Regions from separate parts of the Homo sapiens genome. Here region 1 is linked to region 2. The links are contacts of gene promoters, found by promoter capture Hi-C in human tissues and cell types (Jung and others, 2019). All regions are on one chromosome and are shown on one strand. The core of a region is centred on a gene start or on the middle of the fragment in contact, and the rest is flanking DNA. Distances in the headings are between cores, read along the strand shown.

What was found. Contacts are between HindIII fragments. The study calls those that stand out against the background at their distance.
Region 1: a fragment that was not itself captured here is called in contact with the fragment with the promoter of KLHL32 in region 2 in 2 of the 25 tissues and cell types used here (hippocampus and liver).

What each region holds. Positions count from the first base shown.
Region 1 is chr6:97,022,353-97,027,572 of GRCh38, reverse strand. The region is part of intron 3 of KLHL32 (kelch like family member 32); the gene reads right to left. Among named protein-coding and RNA genes, the nearest start is that of KLHL32, 100 kb to the right of the region's middle. The HindIII fragment of the contact is 5,153 bases long and covers 674-5,220 here.
Region 2 is chr6:96,923,343-96,928,891 of GRCh38, reverse strand. It overlaps KLHL32 (kelch like family member 32), which reads right to left and starts at 4,164. Exons shown (of 11, transcript NM_052904.4): 1 at 3,866-4,164. RefSeq lists a silencer at 4,128-4,437. The HindIII fragment of the contact is 13,841 bases long and covers 1-5,549 here.

The sequences.
Region 1 (5,220 bases), core at 2,001-4,500, 100 kb before region 2:
CCAATTATTTTGGTTGATTTTCTCTGGTCCATTTCCTTCTTATCAATTTTCCTTAAGACGAATTTCATGTGGCTACCTCAAAGCTGCTTTTGACACAAATCATTCAGAATATTCCTATGGAATTCAAAAAGTAGAAGTTTTTAACAAGTTTCAATTTGTCATAAAGAATGACATGGAAGTTTCTTACCTGCCCAATCTGATATTGGTAATGGCTTCCTGCAGCCCCGTTGAGGGCTGTAAGCCACATCCAGCTCAAGTGAGAGTGGTCAGGATCTAGTCATAATGTCTGTCATGGGTATAAATAGGGACCAGGAGCAGACAAGTACTAAAACACACAATTTCTGTCCTAGAATTCACAATGTCATCCATAAGATCTGTTATCCCTTTTCTTTTTCTTTTTTTTTTTTTTTTGAGAGGGAATCTCCCTCTGTTGCCCAGGCTGGAGTGCAGTGGCGCAATCTCGGCTCACTGCAACCTCTGCCTCCTCGGTTCAAGTGATTCTCCTGCCTCAGCCTCCCGAGTAGCTGGGACTACAGGTGCACGCCACCACGCCCAGCTGGTTTTTGTATTTTTAGTAGAGACAGGGTTTCACCACATTGGCCGGGCTGGTCTCGAATTCCTGACCTCATGATCCACCTGCCTCGGCCTCCCAAAGTGCTGGGAATACAGGTGTAAGCCACTACGCCCAGCCCTGTTATCCCTTTTCTATAGAGAATTTTTTAGAAGAATGTTGAAGATAATAGTGTGGAATTTCCTCAGTTATCACTTATTATCTTAGTCTCTTAAAACTCAATGTAAACTAATGATCGCTCTTAAAATTTTAACCCTCAATTTCAACAGTCCCTCTCTTATTTTTAATGTCCTCTCTTAATAACTTTTTCTTCAACATCTAACATAAAGGAAGGTATATGACCATAAATATAGATGCCCAGTCCAGGTGTGGACCCTCCCTTCGATCTTGCATTTTATTCATCACTTTTGTTTGACAGCTGTGAGTCAAGCAATACCCACTGGAGACCATCTCCTTTATTAGGCATGCACACAGACAGGGCAAGAGCCCAGCTAACAGACTGTTTCATTTAACCCCATTAGTTGCTAAGCAACCATTTCCCTGGCACCTTCCTAATCTAAGAACAGGTCAGCTCAATGAATATGAAGAGTTCAAGTCTTCCCAAATGTTCGAGTTAATTTTTTTTTTTTTGAGACAGGGTCTTACTTTGTCACCCAGGCTAGGGTACAGTGACATGATCATAGCTCACTGCAACCTCGAACTCCTGGGCTCAAGCAATCCTCCCATCAAGCTCACTTTTTCTGCAAACACATTTGATGCTTTGTCCATGCAGGCTAACACAAAGTCTCTACATCTTATAAAAATGGGGAAACAAAAGGGTTTAGGAATCATCCACAAGCTTTCAAACACCTTTTAAAAAATAATTAGATGGACTTCTTTTAATCCTATGAACATTTATATATATATAATGTATTTATTTCTCAAAATTTATATAATTATATTTTACATATTACCCATCTTGATCTTCATTTTCTCTTGGGTGAAATGAGCTTTGCTCCATCATTAAAAGAAAGATAAATAGTTTTTTCTTCTAGGGCCTCCCTATAGCTCTGGTGTGATAATGAGAACAATGACAATAGCAACTCATGTTTACCCAGCTTTTACCATGTGGCAGGCCCTGTGTCAGAGTCCTACTTGAATTAAAGTTTTATTTTCACAACTCTGTGAAGTCAGGTACTACTATTACCTCATTTTAAACATGAGAAAATGAGACCCAGTGAAATTAAGCAAACGGTTCAAGGCGATAAAGCTGGTAAGAGGGAGAGTCGGGACTTGAACCCATGCCTTCACCACCATTCTTCTGTGCCTACTCAGGTGCCTCCCTCTCAAGTTGGAAAGACTGCCAGATAAACTGGGAAACTGGTAGGCCCTTCAATTCAAAGAAAGACAAACAGAATCAGGCTGTGTTTAGACTTACAGACCTCCTCTCCTCCACTTCTTCAAACCACAGTTGACCTCAGAAGGATGAATATTCATTGCCTACCTGAGAAATGCATTCATATCTATTACTGGAATTTCACATGAAGTTAGCTAATTCCCATAATTGTAGCAGGATCAGAAAGCATCTAATACTTGTATTGTGATTATAAAGTGATATGAATGATTTGATATGAAAATCTCTCATTAGAGTCACAGCTCTCTGAGTGAGAAGCATACTGATAATTCAATCTTTCAGGAGTTCAGGCATGCAAGCCCAGAATGCAGTCAACATCAGATGGGCTAATGAAAAGCAACCGATTCAACAAGCAGCTGGATCATCCCACTCTATGGACAATTCGTTCCAAATCAGATTTTTACAAAGACGATAAACAGAATCATGGCATTTCTACAGATTCCAATAATTCTTTATACCAATTCATCAGGCTCACAGGATCAGATGTCTTCTCCTCTTTTGTAAAACATCTGCCTTCGCTCAACACTAATTTTTAAGAGTTTAAAAATTCCATCAGCTTTATTATCCTTTAAACATGTGGTCTTCTTTTGGATGAAGCTGAGGTTGACCGTATACCTGAGATCAAATAAGCATGAATGCAAATTTTACTTTAAATAAAACAGCATAAAAGTTATAATCTTAAAAGCATAGAAAAGATATGGCAGAAAAATAAAGTGATATTTCAATATATATTTGAAACAAATACATATAAAGGGGCTTAGCACAATGACTGTCACAGTGTAAATGATAAAAAATGTTAGCTATTATTATTACTTTAAAACTATTTTTCTAGCTTCATAATACTTACATTTACTAGATGTGAATCAGTTTAAATAAAAGAATAAAATGTAGACCAGACTTCACCATTATCCATCCATTCACTATAATGAAGACAATGAACTAATTATAAACGCGATAATGAAAATTAAATGAATGACTGAAATGTTAACAATTTCTCTGGCATTGATTCAAATAATTTTAAAGAAGAATATGATGATGGCTCTTTAGAAGGCTCTCAGCTTTCTATTTAAAAAAGAGGTAACATTTGACCAATATCACTGTTACCTGGTAACTTACCTTGAATTGACAAAAGGAAATCCATTTTTAATGAAATGTGCTCAGTTTCAAAAGGAAATTATGAAGTCATTTAATTTGAAAAAAAAAAAAAGCAACAACAAAAACCCACATACTTCTTCATGTTCACAAGGTCCTGTCCCACAGTACATCAGAATCAGCCTTATCCCACCACCATGTGCAGACTCTATTACAGCAGCTATGTGGCTGCTCATAGTCAGCCAGGCAATTAATGCTTATCGAATATCTACCAGATGTGAGGCTCTGTAACAGCCCGTTTATAAAATGCCAGGTTGACTGCTTAATTTGGCTTTGCAGAATGTCAAGGCCGCTATTAATAGTGCTACTTTTTCTGACTAAAATTAGAAGCTATTTCTTGAGTCCTCTTCCTAACAGATACTACCTAAATGATTAATCATCAGACACAAAGTGGACAATGCCAACTTCTACTCACAGACAACAGTATAATATGATTTAGGTGACAAATTAAGCACATTTTCATCTCTGGATGATTTTTTGTCAATTTCTACAGCTCCTTGGACTATATTTTTTCACACATTTTTCAAAAGTCACAATTGCTTTAGGACAAGACAAGAAGAGCCTATTGCAGCTTTTCAGGACTCTCTTCTGAACCAGATTCTAATATCTCCAGAGAGTTACAAGTTGAAGAGAAGAGAGACCACAGTTACCACATTAGGTTCCCAATTAGTTAGCCAAGGATTTTCCTGGCCCCTAGTTCTCTAGTGGCTTCAGGTGATACTATCCATGTAGAACTAGGCCAGCTGGATCTGAGAAAACAGTGAAAAGCCTGCTGGGTGACAAGTCTTTGGGACTTACAATTAAATCTCCATTTCAGCAGTATGCATCCACTAAGAATTCAAGAAATTCTACGTTAAGGAATGGGTACAATCCTTGTTGCCCTGGATTTTAAATGAATCTCAGCATCAGTAATGCCATACTGTCATGTGTAGAAAGAAAACAGAGACAGTGACCCTTGTGTTTCCCACCCCCACAGCAGCTTCTGTAAGGATAAAAACAAAAAATATATATTTAGTTTTAAAGAAAATCAGTTTTACTTGTGAAATTGAAAGAAGTTACACTGATCAGTTTTATATTTACAAGTGTATCTATAAATTCAGTTTATAGATTGTCAGCTTATAGTTTATAGATTGTCAATGCTGAAAAAATATGATCCAAAACCCCAGAGGGGAAAGATCTTTTGCTAACCAGTCCTATGCCTTCAAATGTTTTAAAAAACCTAAATTGTGGCTTTTTTGTCTTTACAATTTCTAAATTATATGTATTTAGTAATATATGAATATAGTTGATATGGTTTGGATCTCTGTCCCCACTTAAATCTCATCTCAAATTGTAATCCTCATAATCCCCACATGTCAAGGGAGAGACCTGGTGGGAGGTGATTGGATTGTGGAGACGGTTTCCCCCATGATGTTCTCATGACAGTCAGTGAGTTCTCATGATATCTGATGGTTTTATAAGTGGCAGTTTCCCCTGCTCTCTTCTCGCTCCTACCACCTTGTGAAGAAAGTGCTTGCCTCCTCTTCGCCTTATGCCATGATTGTAAGTTTCCTGAGGCCTCCCCAGCCATGTGGAACTGTAAGTCAATTAAAACTCTTTCCTTTATAAATTACCCAGTCTCAGGTATTTCTTTATAGCAGTATGAAAATGAACTAATACAAGTCTTCTTTAAAAATTAGGTGATCAGGGCTGGGCGCCATGGCTCATGCCTATAATCCCAGCACTTTGGGAGGCTGAGGCCAATGGATCACCTGAGGTCAGGAGTTCGAGACCAGCCTGGCCAACATGATGAAACCCCATCTCTACTAAAAATACAAAAATTAGCCAGGTGTGGTGGCAGGCGCCTGTAATCCCAGCTACTTGGAAAGCTGAGGCAGGAGAATCGCTTGAACCTGGGAGACGGAGATTGCAGTGAGTTGAGATCGCACCACTGCACTCCAGCCTGGGCAACAAGAGTGAAACTCCATCTCAAAAAAAAAAAAAAAATTAGGTGTTATCACAGGTAAAATTAGAGTCCTCCTTTCTGAGAAGGTAATACAGTATTTGAGCAAAGACCTGCAGAGGGCAAGGAAGGAAGTCATGTAGCTATCTAGAGGAGTAATCC
Region 2 (5,549 bases), core at 2,915-5,414:
ACTTCATCAAAAGTATATGCAACCTTAAAATCTGTATCTGTAAGAGCCTCCTTAGCCTCCAAGTCTATGACTCTACTAGAAAAAAACGATTACATCTTTTATCATCTAATTTGCCAGAATCTTTTCCCATTTTTGAAAATCCATATATTTACCCACTCCAAATGAATTCATATAAAACGTGTATGCTTTTTCTATAGAAAAGTGATATCATGAGAGGAAATTATATACCAGCCATCAGACATTAAAAATGTAGACACATCATCATGGTTTATGGGTATTTATTGTGTGCCAGTCTCTGTATAGAGAATATAATACTTGGTTTGTCCCTTGACTTTATGTTCAGTCTTTAGAAGAATCAGTACTACATTCTCCAGATTCTCCTCTATGGCTACAACTCCTCTCCTAGTCTCCTTCCCAAATTTGTCTTCCTCCATCCCCTCCCACCCATCCGCAGTTGCATCCTCTGCTGCACTCCATCTTCCAGACCATAGTTCTTCCACAGCTTTCATCACTCGCTCAGCTACAGTAAGCTCATCAATATTAGGTATCACTAGCATCATCCTCTTAACCCACATTTCCAACAGACTGTCTGGTGGAGACTCCCATCTTTCAATAGCTATAAGGATTTTCATTTAATATAATCATACCCAGCCATCAAGTTCCAGCACTAATCCCCCTACTACCTAGGGACTGACCTGATCTCCACAATCAGAACATTTAAAATTTTTTCCCTGTGTCTGAGCTTCTATGGAATCTTATATTTCCATTGTAACATTTAACACATAACTCCCTCAAAATCACAATTATGTACATGTCTATAACCTGCATTAGGTAACAGTTGAGAAGAAGGAATGTGAAAAGAGAAGAGCAGCTGAAGTTGCAAGATTTCTTTCATTGCTCCAATTGGACTTCACAGTCTTAGATCCTCCATCTGTAAAATGGAAATAAGATGCCCACTTTATAGAGTCATTGTGAAGCCGATATGGAAGTAGCTTGCTCACAGAAGAGCTCGAAAAGTGGACGCTGCCAGGAGCAGTGTGTTTGCTCTGAATCATTGAGGGCAGAGACGGTATCTCCATGCACTCAGCCAGGACTTTGTTAGAACATTACTAACACACACCTGCATAGCTCCTTACTAGAGGTGCAACATATTTCCATGAAAGGAAAACTGAAATGGCTTTATTTACTGTTAAGGCATCTTTCCAGAGGGGGATTTTGGAATAAGAGAACCATGAGAAGTCGCTGTTCAAATCTTTTGGCTTTTCCTTTTAACTACACCTCTCTGGATCCACCAAAGAGACAATGTAAATAAAATGACACTCCTCTCTGACTACTTACCTACTTCAGTGAAGTCCACTAGCATCTCTGTAGCTCTAGGAGAAACACGAGAAAATGGCAGCTTCTCAAGACGTATTTACCTCACTACAAGATAGTTATTAAAGGAGTAAACATTTTGTATACCAGGGTGCTGGGATTTAATGTCTCTGAGTTCCCACTTATGTTTTCATTCCTTTGGCATCTTGCAGTATTCAGTGGTGGGTTTTACCTAATTATCTAACACTTTAATCAGACATTTTCATTAAAGGCTCAGGATGCTCCATTTGCTGACCAATCCTACGTCTTCCTATAACAAGCACTCAACTGAGTTTTTCTCCACTTCTTGGCCTTATGGCAAGAAAAAAAACATTAAGCCAGGAACATAAGTTCTAAACTATATATGCTTTTGTTTCACCAGATTCAAAAATTCCTATTTTAGAGCACTTCATGGTCTTTTATTTTCTGAGATATAAGACAGAGATCTAGAAAACCTCAAAAAATTTTTGAACCTGTTTATTGAAAAACAAAGGTAGAGCATTTATTAGACTTTAATATTGAAATAAAAAACTGATCACTCACAATGATGGATGTATTTTTTCACATCAGTATTTTGTTAGAGAATACTAACTTATAATTGAGTGAGACATCAGTAATTATGGGTTGCTAACTAGCAGGCCACAGGCTAGATATGACCCAGATACAATTTTTAATGTGGTCCTTACAGTTTTTAAAATTAAGGATACCTCATAAAAAAAATCCAGAAGCTTCTGTTTTCCTTAAAAAACTGTCATGTTTTAGAGCCTGGACAGTAACAATCGGCTACAGTGGAGTGGGAGCTGCCTCCTTTACAGTGGTTTGCAAGTTCCAGAGGCCACAGTTCACACTCCACTCCCTACCCTCTCTCCCACGTGTCTTGTCTAGGCCTGCTCCACTCCTTTATCTCACTTGTCAGATCCCTGCACACATCTGAAACGCACACACAACTTTTTTTTAAAGGCAAGGAGACTGGATCCAGAAAGGGCTTCCCCATTCACTAGCTGTGACCTTCAGCAAGGTTTGAGTCTTGGGTTCCTCAGCTTTAAATGGAAGGTAATTTATTGGCCTCAAAGGGTTGTTGTGAGGATTAAAAAAGAAGTATATGAAAAGTGCTTTCTACACTGTAATGTAAAATGTTTGTCATCATTCATCTCCCAAAGCTCTGTGAATTGCATAAATCCCCTCTATCTACCTCTGTCATTATTTGGCTTACTTGCTCCTCACATTATTTATTACACTCTCTATGACAGAGTTTAAAATCTAAATTAGAAGAATTTGACTTATTTCCTTGGGTCATTTAACAAGAAGTAGAAAAGATGAACAAATATCCAAGGAAAACAAAATTAATTCTTGAATGCCAGTGGATCTTTACTGGGCCATTTGTTTGTGATGGAGGCATGAAATTCGTGCAAAGTGTAATTACTGGATTGCTGATGCCTTCAAGTACTGTGTTACAAGTTCACCCAATAGACACCCGAGACCTCAAAATAAAACAAAACTGACAGCCCAGGTATTAGGCTGACCTGTTCCATTGGCCTATCAGTGTTCCAGTAGAGGACCCAGTCCCATCAGAAAAAAAACAAAAAGCAAAAACCACTGCACTTTCATATAAGCTCTAGTAAGCCATGGCACACATTTTATATCTATCTCTATCTGTGTATAGAGATAGATCTAAAAATAATCAATAAGAGATTTTTTAAAAAACAGAATCTTCTCAGAAATGAGCAGAGGTGCAAAAAACTGCGCTTCAATACTGATGCAGGGGATATAAAAATGCTAGCAAAGATGTATGTCATGAATGCTACCTTCTTACGTTACGAATTCACAAACGTATTCCTGTTCTGGTCAATTTACAATAGAAGCTCATTCTTGTGTGGGGAAACACAATTAAATCATCTGCTTTTAATTTAAAATAATCACGACTAAGTGAACTGCAAAATAAAACTGGAAATAGAGGGGAAGAAGGGATCTAAACTGCAGTCATCTTTCTTTATAAGATCACCAAAATGGGAGTAAATTATGATTCAAGACACAATCCGTTGAAAAATTCATCTGACGAATCCTTTTTAAAGCATACCATATAGTGCAATTACGGCTTTTCTTGAAGTTGAATGAAACCGCCACCTGAATACAGATTAACAAATGCCAAATTACGAAAGGTCCTCAGTGTATATTTTATTTTAAATATCAAAATAAATAACGGCATCATTTAAGAAACCAGTTCTTTCAATAGATGTCCCACGGCTGATGTTTAAGCAAGTCTCCTTGGCAACCAAGGAGCACAGTACATATTGGGCTCAGGGGGAGGGAAGAAAGGGGGAGCGACTCCAGGGCTGGCAGCATAAGTAACCTGAGTAGTGGCTGCTCCCGTTAGACGACACGGGCAGAGGCTGCATGGGCTGCAAGCCCCTGAAATGTCAACTCCGGGTCTGCCCCCACTTGGCGCACCAGCAGCCTCCCACCCTCTTCCTCAGGTCTGCAGAACAGGTTACAAGGAGAGAGACTGGCTTACCCGATGGGGTGAGCGGTCTGCTGGGTTAGGTGCCAGAGACGGCAGCGCAGGCACCGGCCTCTCCTTGATGCACAATGGCTCTGCTTCGCCCCACGATGCTGAGGTTAACAGAACCCGCAGTAGCTTCGCTCTGCTGGTTCGGGGATGCAGTAGCGAAGACGAGCGTCCTAGCGTGTTTGTGTGTGCGAAAGTGTGTGTGTGTGTGTGTGTGTGTGTGTGTGTGTGCCTGCGTGCGTGTGTGCGCGCGACTGCCTGCGCGCTCCCGAACTGTCGCGCGGGGAAACTGCTCCCTAGTAAATAAAAAGCCCTAGCCAGCACTGCAGGTGGCACGTCCCGCTGACTCCGCCCCAGGCGGTCGCGTCAGACTGGAGACGCACCTTGGCACCCCCGGGGCGGGTTCAGACGCCACAGGGCTCCGCCCCCTCCCGCCTCCAGCTAGCCCGCGCGCTCCCTCCCCCTCCCCCGCGATCCCGCGCACATCCTTTCGCCACCCCGCGCGCAACGCCACCGCCCGCCGCCAGCGCGCTCGCTCCCCTGCCGCCCCCCGCCCCCGCCCCCGCCGTCGGCGAGCTGCCAGCGCGCGCCCGCCGGTCCCGGAAGTACCCTCCTCCACGCCGCCCTCCTCCTCGCTCTCCGGCACCTGCGTCGCCGGCCCCTGGGTCACATGCGCAGTCTGTAGCCACCACTGCGGCGACTGAGACCCGGGAACCCAGCCTGCTCGCCCCCAGACTCCTTTCCCAGGGCTGGCGGGCAATCTGAGCAAACAGACCCCGTGGCCCTAACTCGGTGTTCCAGGGAGTCCTTGCTCTGCTAACTTGTGAAGTTCAAGTTGCCTCTAGTCCTAGCGGCCCTACAGTGGCCCTCCTTAGGATAATACACTCTATGGTACTGACCAGAACAAATTCACAGTAACTTTAAGAAACGTCAGGGGAACCAACCCGCCAGAGGTGGACGAAATCCCCAAGCCTGAGAAATGAGAAAGGGTGTGATTACTGTGGTTACTACTAATTCAGCAATAAAACCGCAAACAGACAACAACCACAGAACCATACCATTAAATTCCAGGGCCTGGCACACTCAAGTGCCACTTCCGAGTCATTCAGGTCACTCCTGTGTAAAACATGCTGAGAAACTCACACTAAAGCAAAGTGGGTAATTTTAATAGGTAAGTATTCCACCACCGAATTGAAAACCTTAGTCCAACGTGGAGGTAAGACACCAGAAGCAGGAAGAGTGTAACTAAATTGGAGTAAACTGTATTTTGTAGAAGTTCAGGATTTAACTTACTGCAAAGATAGTATGTTAATCCTATTTCTTGCAGGTTTATGTTCTGCCACAGAGTTGGGCTAGGAACAGTGCCCTGATCTATTTTGAGGTGTCCTTAATGTTCTCATTGGTCTCAAATCAGTGGTTCAGCGATTATTTTCTACTTCTAGATCCACAGGATTTGGGGGTTTATTCGTTTGCTCCCTCTGGAGGTTATCTGTCTGGCTTGTAGTGCTTCATTTTCATGGTTTTGATATCTGGACGCTAGGATGCTGGGTACCTACTTATCTAGCAGTCCTGGACACAGCATAGGACAAGGGAAAGAATGACAAACAACTGACTACAAACATTAGGTGCAGTGTCATCCTAAGAATTTTTCATAAGCAACTTGATAGTTTTCATTGCGTTGTCTTCTATC